Linked DNA regions of Homo sapiens: region 1 is linked to region 2. The links are contacts of gene promoters, found by promoter capture Hi-C in human tissues and cell types (Jung and others, 2019). All regions are on one chromosome and are shown on one strand. The core of a region is centred on a gene start or on the middle of the fragment in contact, and the rest is flanking DNA. Distances in the headings are between cores, read along the strand shown.

The links. The method cuts DNA at HindIII sites, captures the fragments that hold promoters and counts their contacts. A contact is called where the count stands out against the background at its distance.
Region 1: a contact is called between a fragment that was not itself captured here and the fragment with the promoter of C14orf132 in region 2, in 1 of the 25 tissues and cell types used here (dorsolateral prefrontal cortex).

Annotation. Positions count from the first base shown.
Region 1 is chr14:95,536,400-95,540,409 of GRCh38, reverse strand. All of the region lies in intron 1 of GLRX5 (glutaredoxin 5), which reads right to left. Among named protein-coding and RNA genes, the nearest start is that of GLRX5, 3.4 kb to the right of the region's middle. The HindIII fragment of the contact is 4,840 bases long and covers 341-4,010 here.
Region 2 is chr14:96,037,508-96,041,325 of GRCh38, reverse strand. It overlaps C14orf132 (chromosome 14 open reading frame 132), which reads right to left and starts at 1,964. Exons shown (of 2, transcript NM_001252507.3): 1 at 1,799-1,964. The coding sequence starts at 1,825. RefSeq lists silencers at 1,855-1,904, 1,925-2,114. The HindIII fragment of the contact is 15,410 bases long and covers 105-3,818 here.

The DNA.
Region 1 (4,010 bases), core at 1,511-4,010, 500 kb after region 2:
CCTCACATATTATGAAGATTCCATGATATCTAAGGAATGAAATGAATTGAGCTCCCAGCATAGTACCAGGTACAGTGTGGACATTCTCTCCATACCAACATGCTCCACCACCCACCCTTCACAGTAATGCTTTTCTGAGAAAGGCAACAGAAAAAGCATAGGAAAATAAAGCAGGAAAAAGTGATTAAGTATACCCTAAAGTAATGAAAACGCCATTCAGGCCAGGTGCGGTGGCTCACACCTGTAATCCCAGCACTTTGGGAGGCCAAGGCTGGTGCATCACCTGAGGTCAGGAGTTCAAGACCAGCCTGGCCAACATGGTGAAACCCTGTCCCTACTAAAAATAAAAAAAATTAGCCAGGCATGGTGCCAGGTGCCTGCAATCCCAGCTCCTTGGGAGGCTGAGGCAGGAGAATCGCTTGAACCCGGGAGGCAGGGGTGGCAGTGAGCCGAGATTGCCCCCTGCACTTCAGCCTAGGCAGCAGAGTAACACTCTCTCAAAAAAAAAAAAATATATATATATATACCATTTATTGAGTTAAGGATTACTGAGTTTCATACTCTTTAAGCGTTTTACAAAAATAATCTTATTTAATCTTTACAAAAATCTGACAAGGCAGGTACAATTATCCCTACTTTACATAAGATGAAGAAACTAAGGCTCAGAAGGGTTAAGTAACTTACCGAAACTCACAGTGACAGCGCAGTGAAACCAGGATTTATATCCAGGCTTCCAGGAGTACAAAAGCCCAGACTCTTAACCACATGCTACCTGAGTCCCTCACCAGAGGTGGCCTCTACCCTCTAGCTGCCATCTCACTCCTGCCCAGGAGCTACAAGTGCACTGCACACATATCTGCAATATATGGGACTGTTTTATGCCTTTAACATTTACATATACAAATGGTATTATGCCATAATTACGTGTTTGCAACTTGCTTTTTGACTAAATATTGTATTTTTGAGATTCAGCCATGTTAAATACATCTAGATCTAGTTCATTTTAACTACAGTTTAGCTTTCCATCATGTGACTAAAGTTTATTTATCTGGTCTGCTGCTAATAGACCAAGATCCCTTCCTGTCAGTTTTTCATTATTGCAAGCCATGCTGCAATGAACGCGCCAACACAGGTATCCTAACACAGAGGTCCCCAACCTTTTTGGCACCAGGGACTGGTTTTGTGGAAGACAATTTTTCCACGGACCAGGGAAGGGTGGGGATAGCTTCGGGATGAAACGGTTCCACCTCACATCATCAGGCATTAGTTACATTCTCGTAAGGAACGCACAACCTAGATTCCTCACATGTGCAGTTCACAATAGAGTTTGTGCTCCTATGAGAACCTAATGTCGTCACTGATGTGGCAGGAGGCGGAGCTCAGGCGGTAAAGCTCACTTACCCACCGCTTACCTCCTGCTGTAAGTCCTCGATCCCTGGCCTGGGGGTTGGGGACCCATGTCCTAACACACACATGCAGAAGTCAGTCTCTAGGCCAGGGACAGATAAACTATGGTCTTCAGGCCAAATCCAGTCTACTTCGTAATTAAAGCTGTATTTTCATAAATAAAGTTTTATTGAAACTCAGCCTGCTCATTCATCTACATATTGCCCATGACTGACTTCAGGCTATATAACAGCAGAGTTGAATAGATGCAACAAAAACCACACAGCCCACAAAGCCTGACGTACTTAGTCTCTGGCCCTTTACTAGGGTAAGTTTGCAGATCCCCCTCTCTAGAATATATACCTAGGAGTCACGCAGCTGGGTCTTAGGCTCTGTTCACCCATAGCTTGACTGGGTACTGATAGTTACTCCTCCAAAGTGTTGGTACCATTTTATACTCCCATCTGCAGCATACATGTGCACCACACAAGCACATACACACAACTTGTTATCCAACTTTTAAGGTTCACCAGCATGACATGTTTCACTACTGTCTTCAATTCCCTGATACTGAAAAGGTGGAGCGTATTTTCAAATGCTTAATAAACATTCAACAACAGGATATGGTTATTTATTCAACAAATCATTTGAGTCCCTATTCTGTCACTGTTCCAGATGCAAGGACTACAATGATGATCTAAATCGGCAGCAAATGTTTATAATGCCTTTAAGGCCGCAGAGTTTGCAATATAATGATAAATAAAAGCAGTATTTATTTATTTATTAAAATGCTCACTGAAAGCTTGCTTTGCATAAGCGGTACACACAGCACCACAGGCAGTGGCATAAGACATATTCCCTCGTCTCTGGAGGGCAAAATACTATGTATAGACAAGCATGGTCTCAATGTGTTAAAAAAAAAAAAACTGTTAGGAACTAGATCTAAATGTTAATACAATAGTTTCCATAAATTACAGGTGATTTTCCTTCTTTAAACTTTTCAGTGTTTTCTACATTGCTTCCATGAGCATAAGTTCCTTTATTAAGACCAGGATTAGGAAATGATGATGTCAGTCTACTGGGACCTGATCCCTTTGTGACTGTCTTCTGTGTGCACTCCAGATAAAAAGAGAAGGACAAGAAGGTCTTGAGAAGGCCAGAACACAATGCTGCCTCATAGTCACCTTTGTTCCTTGGGTCACAGTCTCAAGATGTGTCTGTATCACACTCCTGGGAACCCAGTACTCAAAACTAGGAAAGAATGTTTTCCTCCGGTTTAGGCACTTTGTAAAGTTCAGGTCTCCTTGGCATAAGAACCAACAAAAGGCCAGTTTTGCAAGAGCTCCGTTCCTATTACTAGAAATGACCTTGGATCTGGTGTACAAACATAGTTTCGGCTGGCAAAAGCAAGCATCGGACAGCCCGTTAGTTGCTCTTGGTAAATAAAGCTGTATAGGGAAGAGGGGAAGAGTCTTAATAACCTGGCTGAACTAATCCCCATTTGGGGAACGTGCTTTTACCACCCTGCCCAGTCCAAATGTTAATACTTACTAATCTTTACTTTTCTAATCAATAAAAGAGGTATGTTATATTCAATATATATGCAACGCGTTTATTAACCAAAATAGCAATCTGATGAAACTCAGTGGTCAAGGAATGTAAGGGTTAAATTCCTGTCGCTGCTGTTTGAAAACTTAAGAAAGTAAGCTCAGAAACCAGACACCAGACGTGGATAAAAGACAGAAAAATAAAATGTTATCAGTACATATTCGTATTTTTGCTCCTATTTTCCGTTTACTAGCTATATTCCAGCATATCTCATTTCCAGTTATATTAAACAAGAGAAAATAAATTCACAAACCAAAGACCCTCGAAACATGATACTAAGCGAGATAACAACACCACTTTTTTACTAGTGCCATATTGGCAATTTGCAGGGGACTCCCTGCAAGGTCTCTGTCAAAAGACTGCAAAATAGTTACTCCTCTTTTAAGCAGAGAAGCTGTCTTCGAAGGAAGACTGCAGGTCCCTTGCCTTGCACATGATAAAACTGAGCCCAGTAACTGGTGGCATACTAGTTGACAAGGAAGACAAAAGGGTCATGAGAATAACACATGGTAATATTACATATACGTGGTAATTTGAACCTGCCCTCTCGACTCCTCAACTCAACATGCTTTCTAGGTCCCACCCACCACCACTATCACCTACAGCAAATGGAGGATCAGTTATCCCCAAGAGTCTTTAAGGACTAGATAATCTGGGAAAAAATACATTTGAAAACCATCAAGTGCTAATACGAAGCCAGCTACCATTTACCGGGTGCTTTCTGTGCCAGGTAAAATAATACACACTTTCTATAATTTTTACTTTGGCTTCCTAACACAAACTTTGCCAAATTGTCTCATTATCCTCAAATGCAGGTGAGTGACTTAAGTTTTACACCTGATTAGCCACAGAAGAGGATGTCAACCCAAAGCTTTTCCAAACACCAGCCTGTCTCATCATTGTAAGCAATGACTATGATTAGTAATTTCGAATTTAGAGTAACAGAGAACCTGGCACCTATTTTTAGCACACAACTGGCACCTCTTTTTAGCTAGGGACATGCAGGGACTCAGTCA
Region 2 (3,818 bases), core at 715-3,214:
TGACCTGTAAAATGGGGCCTCCGTCATGGACTTGTAAGGATTTGCTGTGATAAAATATGCCAAGCACCCAGCGTCTGGCACATAGTAGGTGCTCAACAAACCTTAGCGTCTGTTCTCATATGTGTGGTACTTCATGTTTCTGTTCCTTGCAGCTAGCACAGTACTGCGCATGTAACCAGTGTCAAAAATGTGTCAAGGAGAATACATTGACCGAGTGGAATGTGAATTGTAAACAAAAAAGGAAAAATAGGAACCTGGTCTCTGGGCAGATTCTGCCTGAAGACGTTAAAAAGCCCTGTATTTATTTCGTCAAGTTGCCATGGCAGCAACTGATGCTCCAGCCAGCTCCAGGGTTAGCAGGGATCAGTTTATCTTGTTAACCATGGAAATTCCGGAGGTTCAGTGGGATCCAGAGGGGAAGGCAGACACAGTTCTTCTCCAGTCTAGAAATAAATCCTGGAAAGCCTCCTTAGTTTTCATGTAGCTAAAACCATCATTATCTAAAATGATGTTTACATGACAATTTTTATAAGTATGGATTTAGGCACAGGAGATGTAAAATCAGGCAAAAAAAAAAGGGCCAGCGATACTCAGAAGGGCAATTAGCATCATGGAAAACTTAAGGGGCTGCCGGAGAGCCAGGATCTAGACCCCCAGAACTAACTTGGGGCTTCCGCATCTTTTAAGCCTCCATTTGCAGACTCGCTGTCCACACACAGTCTGGATTTTGCTGTCACTTTTTAAACAGGCTTCCACTACAGGTGAAGCTTGGGGAAAAAGCAAGTGTCCCCTCAAACTTCGTTCCCTGTAAAAGAAAACAGCAGCAGATGGGGTCCCTGCCACACACCCTGGAGACAGAAGGGAGCCTGGGTGGCCTCCCGACCTCTCTGCTCCCACCATAACCAACCAACACAACCAGAGAAGGTGCAAGATGTGGCTTTGGTAGATTGGGACTTACTCTCCCAGGCCAAACGCAGCCCTTCCCTGGAGCCAGCTCTGGGTCTTCTCTAGGGTCACAGACTGATGGAGAAATCCGGGATTTGTCTTTGTTCTGGCTCAAGAGAGTTAAGGCACAGAAATAGAATCATCACCCAAGCTCAGAACTCCAGGGCATTCTGCCGGAGGAAAATTCAAGCTGTGAGAGATTTGTTTTTCCGGCCACTGGGAGCCTGTTTGTGTCGGGGAGGGGGGTGGGGGGGTTCTGGCCGCGCTGGGCACTGGTGGCTCCATCAGACTCTACACAAAGCAAAACAGGACAAACGACCGCGGCGCGTCGACGCTTGGCGGGTCACGGTCACAAAGCGGGTCTCAGAGCCTTCCTCAGGCGGCGGCAAAGGGGGCGCCCGAGGTCACCGGCAAGAGACAGATTACTGGCGCCTCGGGAAAACAGAGTGGGGAAGGGCGAGACTGTGTGCCCATCCACGTTCGCGCGGGTCTGAGCTGGCCCGGCCTTGGAGGGCTCCGGGACCCCAGAAGGGGGACAGCAGTGGGGGATGGGCAGAAGGGGGCGACTCGGGCTGCCCAGGCTCCTCGCAGCCTTCCTGCCAACGAGAGGGGCCCGGGCGGGAACAGCTCGAGCCGCGGGGGTGCGGGGCGCGCAGCCCGCCCCACCCCGGGAGAGCCGCGATCGCCGCCCCCGACGCGTGCACCAAGTGGGGGTGTCCGGCTCGGGACAAAGGACCGGGACGCGGATCGCGGGCGGGCGCCACTGCCCAGCCCCAGCGTGGAGGGCGAGACCGTGGCCCCGAACCTCCCCAAACTTGGCGGCCCGGGGCGCGTGGGGGGGACGCCCCGTTACCTGCGCGGCCATAAAGGAGAGATCCATGGTGTCGCTGCAGCCAGCGCTCGAGTCCTCGCTGCTGCCGCTGCCGCTGCGGGTCAGCCGCCTGCACAGTTGGCGGGGATCGGGCTGAGCAGCGAGCGTCCGGAGACCGCACGGCGCACTCGGCTGTCTCTGGGCTTCTGGCTCCAGATCTCTACTAGGCGGAGGGCCCCGAGCGCGGGGGCGGGCGGGGCGGGGTGGGGCGGGGCTCGGCGGACGGGGCGCCCCTCCACGTGACCACTCCCCGCCCCACCCCCGGGGCGGGGTCCGTCAGAAACCCCAAGCGCTCGCAATCGCCTCCCTTCGTGGGCGGGATGGGGAAACTGAGGCCCGAGGCCGCCCCGCTGGTTGGTGCAAGAACCAGCCTGCAACCCAAGTCCTGAGCTGTTGGCGCCCCGCCCCGTGCAGTTGAACCCAACCCACCCGGGGCTGTGGGCAGCGCTCTCTTGGGGCTGACACGTTATCCCGAGCCTGAGGACCAAGATCGGAGTGACCTGGCTTTCCACGCCAACGCTCCTCCCAGAGTCCGGTGTACTCCCGGCTCGGCATCTGGGCAGAACGAGGTTTAATCCTAGCCCTGCTTTGTTGTGCAGCTTGAGCAAGATAGTGTCTTTGAGCCTAGATTTCCTCATCTGTGAAAAGAGAATACAGAACCGAATAATTAAATGAGATAGGGAATATAGCACGCGGTGTCCTCAATAAATGAGAGCCCTAACATGGCTAATCATCCAATAGAGACGAGGCTGTGAGTGGTGTCTTCGAGGACCGCACGGTGCTCAGGTTGCACAGCGGGTACTCCATGGCTCTCAGCTCAAACCAGTATCGAAAATCATGCAGGTGCCACAGTTCAAGTAAGGGGAACAGAAGAGACGCCCACAGGGGCCCATTGCTCTGTATGTGTGTGTGTGTGTGTGTGTGTGTGTGGTGGACACCACAGACTTGGTGACACGTGGAGGCTTTGCCCTCCGGGGGCTCACTGGGAGGGAACCAGCTGTACTCTAAGGAGTCTCAGTGAGTACGACTGGTCCCTTTGGGTGATGTCTCTTCCAGGTACTTTACACTCATGGTCATCACGAGCCTCTGTGAGGGGCAGCCTGGGACTCCCAGACTTTGTCACAGGCAAGGAAGCTGTGGCACAGGGAGATGGAGGGGTTTGTTCAAGGTCCCCCGGCAGCTGGGGGCCCAGTAGGGACTGTGGCTATGGGAATGGGACCAGAACCTCACTGACCTACAGAAGGCTTTCAGTGTTATCTTTCCTGTAACTTTCCTTTCTTTTCTTTTCCTTCCCTTCCTTTCTCCCTCCTTTTCTTCCTCCTCTTCCTTCTCTCCTTCTCTCCCCTTCCCCCCACTTTTTTCTTTCTTTTCTCTTTTCACTTTTCCTGTCATGCTTGCCTCCTCCCTTCCTCCTCTGGTCTCTAAACCCTCCAGTTCCCTGGCCCTCCCTTCCCTCCCTGTTTTTAGCCAGTACTGCACTCACCACACCCATCATTCCTGCCACCTCCCAGCCTAGTCCACACGGGGCCTGCCCAAACAGTCCATGCCAAGAGCCGCCCACCTCCTCCCACCCTTCCTGTGGCCAATAGCAAAGCAGCCTGCCCAGAACTGCCCAGGGCTCCCCGTCTGCTGTAAGAAATATTATGTACACGGCATACTTCACAATAAAAGGGCGTATAGGTTGTGTGTGTGCAATTTGAAAAATAATATAGCCTTGCATAGGTTAAAAAGTGGAACAATAAAAAACAGTCGTGAAGTCCTACTGTGTATCTCTCCAAAGGCATCTCCTACCTGCCCCCTTTCCAGGGTCACCTCCATCCTATTTAGTATTCACTCTTGTCAATTCTCTTGCTTTTCTTTATAGTTTTACCTTTATAGATTACCTGCTTTAACCCTTTGTAGAAAAATTAAATTGCTCTAAATTTGCTCTTCCATGTCTTCTTTGTTGTTTTCTCAGCATTATTTGTGTAGTTGACGTATATTGTTTTTCAGTGCTACACAA